Regions from separate parts of the Homo sapiens genome. Here regions 2, 3 and 4 are each linked to region 1. The links are contacts of gene promoters, found by promoter capture Hi-C in human tissues and cell types (Jung and others, 2019). All regions are on one chromosome and are shown on one strand. Each heading gives the region's core, a stretch centred on a gene start or on the middle of the fragment in contact. The rest is flanking DNA. Distances are from core to core; before and after follow the strand shown.

Region 1 (2,803 bases), core at 122-2,621:
CCGTGCGCGCGCGTGCCCGGGCCGTGACGGCCACTGATGTGCTGGACTGCCAGGGTGGAGGGGAAGAGGGAGGGGTAGGAGATGGGGACTCCCCCGCCCCTGCCCGCCCACTCGCGGGTTTGAATGAAGCGCGAGGGGGAAGGGCGGCAGCGGGAGGACGTTTTTGTCCGATGGCCCTTCCCGCTCCATGCACCGGGGAATCCTCCCCCTTCTGGAGAACTTCGCTCGCTCTCTCCAGGCACTGCCTCCAACGTCGGCTCCAGGGGAGACTAGGAAGAGGCGCCCCTCACCGGAGTGGCTGGAGCTCCTCCTATCCAGCCTGACCCCCGAGGGAGCACCCTTTAATCTGAGATAATCCTGGCCCAAGGCTGCAACACGGCCTATTATCCTGGTATCAAAGCGTGGATTGGGATGCATGGAAGTGTGAGGTGGTCGAGGCCCTGCATGCTTAGAGTAATGGAGTCCTTAGAGCCCCGGCGGAGGAAGCGTACCCCAAGACGAACGGGGAGGGGCTATGCGTGGCCCCAGACTGTGACGACAAGGAAAGCCCCCTTCCACCCCTCCACGATTCCCCCCACCAAGCGCGGGGCCAGGAATACGCGCCGTGGGCTAGACTCTAGCGACACCCAGCGGCCAGCGGGGTGGGGAGCCGAGACCCGTTTTGAGGGGGTCCGGGTGATTCCAAAGTGTGTGTGTGTGTGTGTGTGCGTGTGTGTGTGTGTGTGTGTGTGTGTGCGCGCGCGCGCTCGCGCGAGTCCTCGCTGCGAATGGCAGGAGGTGGAAGACAAGGAGAAGGCTGTTGCCGAGGCGGGGAAACCCCAGCTCCCAAGGCAGGGCCACAGTCTCCCCTCCACGTTTAACCCTGCAAGGGGAGGGCCATACCACCCCCGATTTAGACACCCCCAGGGCAGGTCCAGTCCTCCTCGGGCTGAGAAAGTCCGAGGAGTCATCAGGCGCCCCTCTCCAGCGCAGGCTTAGGTCCCCGTTTACGAAGGGCAGGGGGAGGGCCTTCCCGCCGTGTCCCTACCCCTTGCAGACGTCACTGCGGCGTGGCTGAGGGGACAGTCCTCTCAGTCTCATCAACCGTCCCCTCCCTGCCACCCCAAACGCCCACCGTGGAGCGGCGGGAGATGAGGGGGGCTCGGAGTTGAAGCGCGCACTCATATGCCCCCAGGAGACCTAGCGGAGCCCCAGCGCCCGATGACGCGGAGTCTCTGCGGGAACTCCAGGGGGCCGGAACACTTACGCAGGGCCCTTTAAGGCTGGCTGGGTAGCTAGTGCCGCTGCCGCGGTTACTAGGGATGTGACGTCACACAGGGCGGGGTTTCCCGCGCTCGGCGGAAGCGGAAGGGGCGGGGCTCCGCGCTCCTAGTCTCCACTGCTGCCGCCGTCGCCGCCACCCGAGCCGGAGCGGGCTGGGCCGCCAAGGCAAGATGGTGGACTACAGCGTGTGGGACCACATTGAGGTGTCTGATGATGAAGACGAGACGCACCCCAACATCGACACGGCCAGTCTCTTCCGCTGGCGGCATCAGGTAAGGCGCGCGCGCCCATCCCTTTCCCCACTCCCGGACCCCGCTTCGGAGTTGTGATCCCCGATACTGCCCAGGGACCCCGCTGTTCACACCTAGGATTCTCACCCCCCCAGTCTGGATTTTCAGGAGCTTCGATTCAACTCCGGGACCCCAGTACCATTGGGACCCTGAGTCCCTGCCCTGGATCTCCGCTCCCCCACTCCCTGCTCCGATTTTTGCGTGGGATTCCCTATTCACCCCCTAGAACTTCTTCATAGTCTGGAGTCCCCTAGACGAGTCTTGGGGGTTCTCCCTAATTCTGTTCGGCAGTTAACATTTATACCCAGAACTCTGCCTCAAAGTTTGGACCCCAAATTCTTCTAGATGATCCCTCATCCTATTCGGGTATTCACTTCCTATCTGGGATCTCCCATCGCCCCCCCACCTCCGTAGTCTGGACCCCCAATACTTTGGTCTGTCCCGGGATCTACTTTCCGGGATCTTGATCCGGGGTTCCCATTCAGATCCGGAGTCGCCACTCCTTTTCTAAACGGAACAAGGAACTCTGTGCTACTCTGATATTCCTGTCCCTGCCCACACCCAGGACCCCCTTCCTAGAGTGTAGAACCGTCCCCCTTCAGGATCCTTAGTCTCACCGAGTACTTGGGTTTTGGAATCTGGTTCCCCTCTGGATCTAACTACCAGCTCCAACCCGATAGAGCCTCACATTCCAGCCTCTCCTTTGGCCTCCGGTAGACCCATTTCCCATTATACCAGGAAATCCTGCCCACGTGGCTTCCGGCCTAGCCAGAGCCCCTGCTCCTACTTGGTATTGCAGACCCTGTCACCACCCACTTCCCAGACTGGCTTCCTGTATGAGCCTCAGCCAGCATTGGAAACTCTCCCCTAACTCAAGCCCAGAACCCCAAACCCACCCCACCTTTTGTCCCCAGCCTGTTAGCTACTCTGTGACCCAAATTGTCCCTGCTCTTATCCAGGGACTCTCCTGGTCTGATTCTAAATTCACCACCCCTTCTTCTATCTGACCACAACAGAGGTCCCGAATCCAGACCCCAGAATCCCAAGCCTGGGTGATCCATGTCCCACCACCCTCTCAGTGCTCACGAGCCAATGGGATGACTAAGACTTAAAGGTTTAACCTCCTGCTACCCCAAATGAGTGTGCCTGCATTACATACCAGTGTCTGTTGTATTCCTTTTTTTTTTTTTTTTTTTTTTTTTGAGACGAAGTTTCCTTCTTGTCGCCCAGGCTGGAGTGCAGTGGCACAA
Region 2 (2,803 bases), core at 141-2,640, 250 kb before region 1:
GCTTCAGTACCTGGCATGGAGTTAAAGCTTCAAAAACAGTAATGGTTATGATTGTTACCTCTTGAACGGGTGCCCCATCCAACCAGAACTTCCTGAAAAATGTTGTCTTGGCCAGGCATGCTGGCTCATGCCTGTAATCCTACACTTTGGGAGGCTGAGGCAGGGGGATTGCTTGAGCCCAGAAGTTCAAGACCAGTCTGGGCAACATAGTGAGACCCCATCTCTATGTTTTTTATCTATCTATCTATTTATTTATTTTTGAGATGGAGTCTCGTTCTGTAGTCCCAGCTAGGGTGCAGTGATAACAATCTCAGCTTACTGCAACCTCCAATTCCCGAGTTTAAGCAATTCTGCCTTAGCCTCCCAAGTCACTGGGATTGCAGGCGTACACCACCATGGTCAGCTAATTGTTGTATTTTTAGTAGAGACTGGGTTTTGCCATGTTGGCCAGGCTGGTCTCAAACTCCTGACCTCAAGTTATCCACCCACCTTGGCTTCCCAAAGTGCTGGGATTACAGGCATGAGCTACTGCACCCAGCCCCATCTCTACATTAAAAAAAAAAAAAGTTTTCAAGAATAAAAACAAAAAGAAGGCTGGGGGCAGTGGCTCATACTTGTAATCCTAGCACATTGGGAGGCCGAGATTGGTGGATCACTTGAGGTCAGGAGTTCAAGACCACCCTGGCCAACATGGTGAAACTCTGTCTTTACTAAAAGTACAAAAAGTAGCTGGGCATGATGGCTGGCATCTGTAATTCCAGCTACTCGGGAGGCTGAGGCACGAGAATCGCTTGAACCTGGGAGGTGGAGGTTGCAGTGAGCCGAGATCAAGCCACTACAGTCCAGCCTGGGTGACAGGGAGACTGTGTCTAAAAAAAAAAAGAAAGGGCCAGGTGTGGTGGTTCACCCTCTAATCCTAGCACTTTGGGAGGCCGAGGCGGGTGGATCACTTGAGGTCAGGAGTTCGAGACCAGCCTGGCCAACATGGTGAAACCCCATCTCTCCTTAAAATATAAAAAATTAGCTGGGCGTGGTGGTACGCACCTGTAATCCCAGCTACTCGGGAGGCTGAGGCAGGAGAATCACTTGAACCCAGGAAGCGGAGGTTGCAGTGAGCTGAGATTGCACCATTGCACTCCAGACTGGGGGACAAGAGTGAGACTTCGTCTCAAAAAAAAAAAAAAAGGAAAAAGAAAAAAATTTTTTGAAGTAAAAAGTTTTCAGCCCAACTTTCCAATAAACCCCATCCATCAGGTTCCTAGTCCCTGGTCACCGTAAAGGATGGAAGACACAAGATGCCATCTGCCCTGTCTTGCTGAACTGCTACCCTGACCCGACCTCGCACCTCTGCCCTTGTCCTTCCACCACTCAGTGGTCACAAACCCTGTATACAACACCATTCTCTCCTCCTTGCCTTAGTGACATCATCTGTCATCTGGCTATTCCTTCTCTCTTCCCTCCCTCCCACTCATTGGTTGAAGATTGAGGTCATCCCCCTCTTGTAATCTGTCAGTCTAGACAGGTCCTGTCACTCTCAGTGACTCTGCTGTCCTTACAGCCTCTCTATTCATTGTCTTCCTCATCTTGAAAGATTCCACCCACTCTCCCAATCACACCCAGTTAACTTCCCTCTCGAAAGCTTTTTGTCCTATGCCTGTTCCCTTCTTGCCCCCCCCCAGGGTGGACATGGGTGACCACTCTGGGATGGACACTGTGGGATGACCACAGTTGTTGGGGAACCATTCCTCTCCCTTGATCAAACTGTAGTCTAGATGGCAGGTCCCTGCTGCCTGACTCCCAAACTAGGCCCACACCTTGACTACAATGATTGACTCAATGATTTACAATGAGTAAATGATCATAATCAGGCTGGTCAGAGTCAGTGAGCTCCAGGCCTGAGACTTAGGAGCAAGAAAAGACTTTTCTGGCCCTCTAATCCCAACACTTTGGGAGGCCGAGGTGGGTGGATCAAGAGTTCAAGAGTTCAAGAGCAGCCTGGCCAAGATGGTGAAACTCCATCTCTACTAAAAATACAAAAATTAGCCGGGCATGGTGGCGGGCTCCTGTAATCCCAGCTACTCGGGAGGCTGAGGCAGAGAATTGCTTGAACCCAGGAAGCGGAGGTTGCAGTGAGCCAAGATCATGCCACTGCACTCCAGGCTGGGCGACAGAGCGAGACTCCGTCTCAAAAAAAGAGAAGACTTCTCATCTTAAAGCCAGGAAAATGTAGCTGCGTGCGGTGGCTCATGCCTGTAATCCCAGCACGTTGGGAGGCCAAGGCAGGCGGATCATGAGGTCAGGAGATCGAGACCATCCTGGCTAACATGGTAAAACCCTGTCTCTACGAAAAATACAAAAAAATTAGCCGGGGGTGGTGGCGGGCAGCTGTAGTCCCAGCTACTCAGGAGCTGAGGCAGGAGAATGGCGTGAACCCGGGAGGCGGAGCTTGCAGTGAGCCTAGATCGTGCCACTGCACTCCAGCCTGAGTGACAGAGCAAGACTCCATCTCAAAAAAAAAAAAAAAAAAAAAAAAAGGCCAGGAAAATGTATGATGTGTGTATTACTAGGTTTCTCCGAGAAAGCTAATAGGAGGTAGGTAGATGAGAGGGGATTTAGCAGAATAATTGGCTCATGTGATCATGGAGGCTGAGATGTCCTACCACATGCATTGACTGCAGACCCTGAAAAGCCAGCAGCTCCAGTAGCTGAAGACCCTGCAAAGCCAGTAGCGAGGCTCAGTCTGAATCCTAAAGCTTCAGAGCCAGGGACACCAATGGTGTAATTCCCAGTCCAAGGCCGAAGG
Region 3 (2,803 bases), core at 225-2,724, 180 kb before region 1:
CTAGGGTACAGAGTGAGACCCTGTCTCTACAAAAAAAGTTTTTTGGCTGGGTGCGGTGGCTCACGCCTGTAATCTCAGCCCTTTGGGACGCTGAGGCGGGTGGATCACCTGAGGTCGGGAGTTCGAGACCAGCCTGGCCAACATGGTGAAACCCCATCTCTATTAAAAATACAAAATTAGCCAGGCGTGATGGCGCATACCTGTAATCCCAGCTACTTGGGAGGCTGAGGCAGCAGAATCCCTTGAACCCGGGAAGCGGAGGTTGTAGTGAGTAGAGATCATGCCACTGCACTCCAGCCTGGAGTCTAAAAAAAAAAAAAAATTAGCTGGGCATGGTGGCGCTTGCCTGTAATCCCAGCTACTAGGGGTGCTGAGGCAGGAGGATTGCTTGAACCTGGGAGGTGGAGGTTGCAGTGAGCCAAAATCATTCCACTGCACTCCAGCATGGGCAACAGAGTGAGACTCCATTTCAAAAAACAAAAAAAAATAAATTTTTTATTTGAAATGAATAAGAGTAAATTTGTAAGAATAATAAAAGCAAGTACATTTGTCCTGCTCGGAATTATATCCACAGTTCCTGTTACTGAGTGAATGAATATTTCAAATTCAGTCAGTAAAATTCACCAGTGAAAATTATTATATGAATGAGTGAATGAATGAATTGGGCAAATTTTGAGCACCCAGTGCTGAGCACTAGGGACATAAACATGAACAAGACAAAGTCCCTGCTGTATGGGGGCTGACGTGTGTGGGTGAGACAGAGGAGAAAGAAGGTGAATGGATGGATGAATCAATGAGAGGATGAATGAATGGATAGATGGGTGGATGAATGGATAGATGAATAAATTAATGAATGCAAGAATGGATGGATGGATGGATTGATGAATGGATAGATGAATAAATTAATGATGCAAGAATGGATGAACGGATGGATGGATGGATGGATAGATGAATAAATTGATGAATGTTAGAATGGATGAATGGATGGATGAATGGAAAGATGAATAAATGAATGAATGCAAGAAGGGATGAATGAATGGATGAATAAATGGATGGATGAATGGATAATGGATAGACGAACAAATAAATGAATGCAAAAATGGATGAAGAAATGGATGACGAATGGAAGGATGGATCAATGAATCGATGGAAGATGGATTAATGAATGGCTAAATGAGTGGATGCGTGGATGGATTAATGAATGCAAGAATGAATGGATGGATGGACGAATGGATGGATAGATGAATGAAAGGAAGGATGAATGAATGGATGGAAGGATGGTTGATTGGTTTGGGGTCTCCACCCGTCATTACTCCTGGGTGGCTAGGGAAAGTGAAGGGGGGCAGCAGACCCATCTGAAGTCGCAGTACCTCTCCCGGCCCCGCAGCCATCTTCAAGTTGGCCGACAGCGCTGCTCACCTGGCCGCCTCCCCTTTAAGACGCACACACCTGGGCTCTCACCTGGGCGCAGGCGCTTCCGCAGGAAGAAGGAAGCGGCGCCGCCATCGCCTCCCGGCGCTCCCTCCCCGACTCCTAAGTCCTTCGGCCGCCACCATGTCCGCCTCGGCTGTCTTCATTCTGGACGTTAAGGGCAAGGTGAGGCTGGGCATGAGGAGTTGGGAGACGGACAGGTGAGGTCTCGCTCCCAGGGATTCAGGGGCGACCCCTCCGCGCGGGCCAGGAAGAGGTCTGGGAACACCCCCTCCCCCTGCAATCCCTGGGAATCCCACCTCCAGCATCCACTCGCCTTGTGCCTGAGGCCAAGGGGTTCGCCTCCTAGGGCCTCAGTTTCTCTGTATGTAAAAATGGGAGCAACAGAGGTCCCCACCCAATGAGAATTAATACAACTCGCTGCGTGTAAACTACTTAGCATAGTGGCCTTTCTGGAAATATTAGGGACTCAGCAAATTGAAATTATCTCCATCACTGTCGGCATCCACAGTGTTAATACCTGGGGAAGGCAACTGGAACAGGGGCCTCTAACTCCCCCCATCTGTGGCTGCCTTGCCTCTTCCTGAAGTCCTTTTATTCCTCTTGTCTTTTTTTATTTTGGAGACAGGGTCTCTTGCTGTCTCCCAGGCTTGAGTGCAGTGGTGCGATCATAGCTCACTGCAGCCTGGAATTCCTGGGCTCAAGCGATCCTCCTGCCTCAGTCTCCGGAGTAGCTGTGACTACACAGGTGCAGGCCACCATGCCTGGCTAATTCTTGACATTTTTTTGTAGAGGGATCCCGCTATGTTGCCAAAGCTGCTCTCAAACTCCTGAATATCTGGGGCTGCGGGCTGACCCCTCCATGCCCGGCTATTTTTAATTTTTTTTTTTTTTTTTTTTTAAATAGAGTCTTGCTCTGTCACCCAGGCTGGAGTGCAGTGGCTCCATCTTGGCTCACTGCAACCTCCACCTCCCGGGTTGAAGCAATTCTCCTGCCTCAGCCTCCCGAGTAGCTGGGACTACAGGTGCATGCCACCATGCCTGGCTAATTTTTGTATTTTTTTTTTTTTTCAAGACAGAGTCTCGCCTTGTCACCCAGGCTGGAGTGCAATGGCATGATCTTGGCTCACTGCAACCTCCACCTCCCAGGTTCAAGTGATTCTCCTTCCTCAGCCTCCTGAGTAGCTGGGATTACAGGCGCGCACCATCACGCCCGGCTAATTTTTTGTATCTTTAGTAGAGATGGGGTTTCACCATGTTGGGCAGGATGGTCTCAATCTCTTGACCTCGTGATCCGCCCACCTCGGCCTCCCAAAGTGCTGGGATTACAGACATGAGCCACTGCGCCCGGCCGCACCCGGCCTATTTTTTA
Region 4 (2,803 bases), core at 199-2,698, 130 kb after region 1:
AAAAAAAGAAAAGAAAAGAAAGAAAGAAGGGGCTTATTTGGATCAGGTCCCTCAGATTCTGCTGCCTCCGAAGGTGGGAAAAAATGTCTGAGCCCAGCACTGCCTCACTCAAAGATTCCTGTCTCAGATTTGTTCTATCTTGGATGGGGGTGTGAGGACACTGGCTCCATACATTCTCCAAGGGAGATTCTGGGACCATTCCCATTTCATAGAGAGAAATGGTTACTCAGCTAGAAAGCAGTGCGATCTGGGTCTGAGTCCGGATCAGAACGCTTTGTTTTTTGAGACAGAATCTCGCTATGTCTCCCAGGCTGGAGTGCAGTGGCACAATCTTGGTTCACTGCAACCTCAGCCTCGTGGGCTTAAGGGATTTTCCTCCCTCAGCCTCCCGAGCAGCTGGGATCACAGGCGCCCACCACCATGCCAGCTAATTTTTGTATTTTTAGTAGAGACGGGATGTTGCCATGTTGGCCAGGCTGGTCTCAAACTCCTGACCTTAAGTGATTCGCCCGCCTGGGGCTCCTAAAGTGTTGGGATTACTGGCATGAACTACCGTGCTGGCCTGGATCTCAGGCTTTGTTGAGCTGTTAACCAAGCTGTCAATCTCCCACCCTCCTGGTTCCCCAAACTTACACCACCATGAAAGACCCTCTGACCCCTTCCCTCTTCCCTAGCTGGGCTGGAGCTGGGGGAGGGTGTGCTGGGGCGTCCCACTTCTCAGCTTTGGGCCACGGATAAGTCAGCTCTGGAATTCCCCCAAGTAGAAGCAGCCCTGGACTTCCCCAGGGGCAGAGAGGATGAGGAACAGAATATACATCTTGAGGGGGGTGGGGGTCCCTTAAGCCTTGTTGGGTTGGCACAGAGCCAAGTTCCCAAACCATCATGATCGAGTCCTGGGGCCAGGTGCTGCGCTGGGCCAAGATACCCTGCCAGGTGGCCGCTATAACGTTTCCCGTTTTACAGCTGAGAAACTGTAAGAGACGCAATCTAGCCAAGCAAGGCGGTGGTTCACACCTCTCATCCCAGCTACTCGGGAGGCTGAGGCAGGAGGTAAGGCTAGACCCCCGGAGTTCAAGACCGGCCTGGGCAACAAAACGAGGCCCGCCCCTCCCCTCCATCTCCAACCCCCTACCCTTTTTTAAAGCTGCAATCTATAGCCCAAGGCCACACGTGGAGGTATGCAGGGTCTGGATTCGAACCTACTGGCTGTTGCCTTTCAATCGCTGTCTCTAGCCCCTCCTTCCCATAAACAGCTACCTAAGCATGCATGACCTGACCCGGGAGCCGGTCCTCCCGGGGCTTCGGAGAACTGGCCCGACGGCAATCCCCACCCCGACTCACCTGGGAACAGAGCCCCGAGCAGGACCAGGAGTGCGGGCAGCGCGGGCCGGGGGCTGCTGGGAGCCATAGCGAGGCTGAGGTTGCAACTCTGAGTAGCAGAGGAGCTCAGCGTCGACTGGGGCGCGTGATCCTTTATAGCGCTAGCCACCTGGGGGCCAAGGGGCGGTGCTGCTTTCCCGGAAACCTCGCGCCTTCCCCTCCGGAACAAATGCTGCAGTTATTTCCGGACTGACAGGGTGCCCGGGCCGAGAGGGTCATCCTCCCTCGCTGGCCGCTTCAGCTCCGGAATTTCCAAGCTAAAGCAATCGGGCGGCGGTGGCAGGGCGATGACCCCGGGGGCTGCTCCCGGCCTCCACGCCTCCCGTTTCCCGGCCAGGCTAAGCTTGAATCACGGTCTACACCGCGCTAAGCGGTTTATTAAGTACTTTTAAATACTGCCAACTTCCCCGGAGAGTGGAGACTGTTATTGTGTCCATTTCACAAAGCGGTAAACTGAGACTCCAGGCTGCGAGGGGGTCCGAACTCAAGTCCTCCCTCTCCAGCTTACGCAGGCCTCTTTAATCGAGTGGATGAGCCCCCTGCCTGGGTGGGGGCCCAGGAATCCTCCCCGGGCTCCCTCCACTGAGGGATGCCCCTCCCCCTAGGTCACGTCCACACCTAGCTGACACGGGCATTTCTCGAGAAGCGGCCAGAGCAGAGCCAGGCACCTCCCGGCGACCGCTAACCGTGGGAGTGACGAAGCGCGGTCTCACCACGTCCGGGGAAATCGGCGTCCTCTCTCTACACCCGAGGGCACTCACCCCGGCGGCCTCCTCGCTTCCCCTTTCGGCCTTGGCCGCGGAGGCGTCTTTACAGCTCCCAGAAAAAGGAAGGAAGCTGCGTGATCCCTACGCGCCGAGCCCCTCCGCTGGCGTCCCAGGCTCCGCGGGGAAACTGAGGCAGCTAGCTTGGATCTTGACGAGGGAGGGGAGGGGGACGCTCGAAATCCCTGCCTGTCGCTGGGAAACTGAGGCAGCAGCCCCCAGGCGCAGAGGCGAGGCAGGGAGAAGGGGCGCTCGAACCCCTGCCCTACGCGCGAGGCTCCGGCAACTCGAACCCAGGCTCATGCACTAAATATGAGCGGGTGTTTGCTTGGCCACCGCCTGTGCGTGTGACCCCAAGACTCGACATCCACCACGTCGAGGCTGGGTACTCTTAAGTCTCCGAGCACCAAGCCGCGCCGCCTAAGGCTTTCCTGTTGTGGGGCGCGCGCGGCGTCGCCATGGAGATCTCCGAGGGGCCAGGGAGGTCGCGCAGCAGAAGGGGAAGCGAAGGGTCCCCGGACGCGCAGGCCCTTCCTATCGGGGAAGGGGGCTGCGAGTCACTGGCCATCCAGAGACGCATATTTCCCCCGCCTCGGTCATTCCCAAGGAATTTCCACGGGGATATTTTTTTCTTGGGGGGCTGAGGAGTTCTGAATTCC

Evidence for each region. Contacts are between HindIII fragments. The study calls those that stand out against the background at their distance.
Region 2: a fragment that was not itself captured here is called in contact with the fragment with the promoter of CDC37 in region 1 in 5 of the 25 tissues and cell types used here (IMR-90 fibroblasts, dorsolateral prefrontal cortex, hippocampus and 2 more).
Region 3: the fragment with the promoter of AP1M2 here is called in contact with the fragment with the promoter of CDC37 in region 1 in 1 of the 25 tissues and cell types used here (lymphoblastoid cells).
Region 4: the fragment with the promoter of ICAM1 here is called in contact with the fragment with the promoter of CDC37 in region 1 in 1 of the 25 tissues and cell types used here (lymphoblastoid cells).

Annotation. Positions count from the first base shown.
Region 1 is chr19:10,402,110-10,404,912 of GRCh38, reverse strand. It overlaps CDC37 (cell division cycle 37, HSP90 cochaperone), which reads left to right and starts at 1,371. Exons shown (of 8, transcript NM_007065.4): 1 at 1,371-1,535. The coding sequence starts at 1,434. MIR1181 (microRNA 1181) reads left to right here and starts at 1,375; the gene lies at 1,375-1,455. RefSeq lists an enhancer at 846-1,195 and a silencer at 1,596-1,655. The HindIII fragment of the contact is 39,094 bases long and covers 1-1,736 here.
Region 2 is chr19:10,647,208-10,650,010 of GRCh38, reverse strand. No RefSeq gene overlaps it. Among named protein-coding and RNA genes, the nearest start is that of ILF3-DT, 5.3 kb to the left of the region's middle. The HindIII fragment of the contact is 3,105 bases long and covers 1-2,803 here.
Region 3 is chr19:10,585,983-10,588,785 of GRCh38, reverse strand. It overlaps AP1M2 (adaptor related protein complex 1 subunit mu 2), which reads left to right and starts at 1,474. Exons shown (of 12, transcript NM_005498.5): 1 at 1,474-1,596. The coding sequence starts at 1,555. The HindIII fragment of the contact is 10,873 bases long and covers 1-2,803 here.
Region 4 is chr19:10,269,765-10,272,567 of GRCh38, reverse strand. It overlaps ICAM1 (intercellular adhesion molecule 1), which reads right to left and starts at 1,448. Exons shown (of 7, transcript NM_000201.3): 1 at 1,342-1,448. The coding sequence starts at 1,408. The region is part of intron 1 of LIMASI (lncRNA inflammatory and mucous response associated, antisense to ICAM1); the gene reads left to right. RefSeq lists enhancers at 647-886, 1,797-1,886. The HindIII fragment of the contact is 18,240 bases long and covers 1-2,803 here.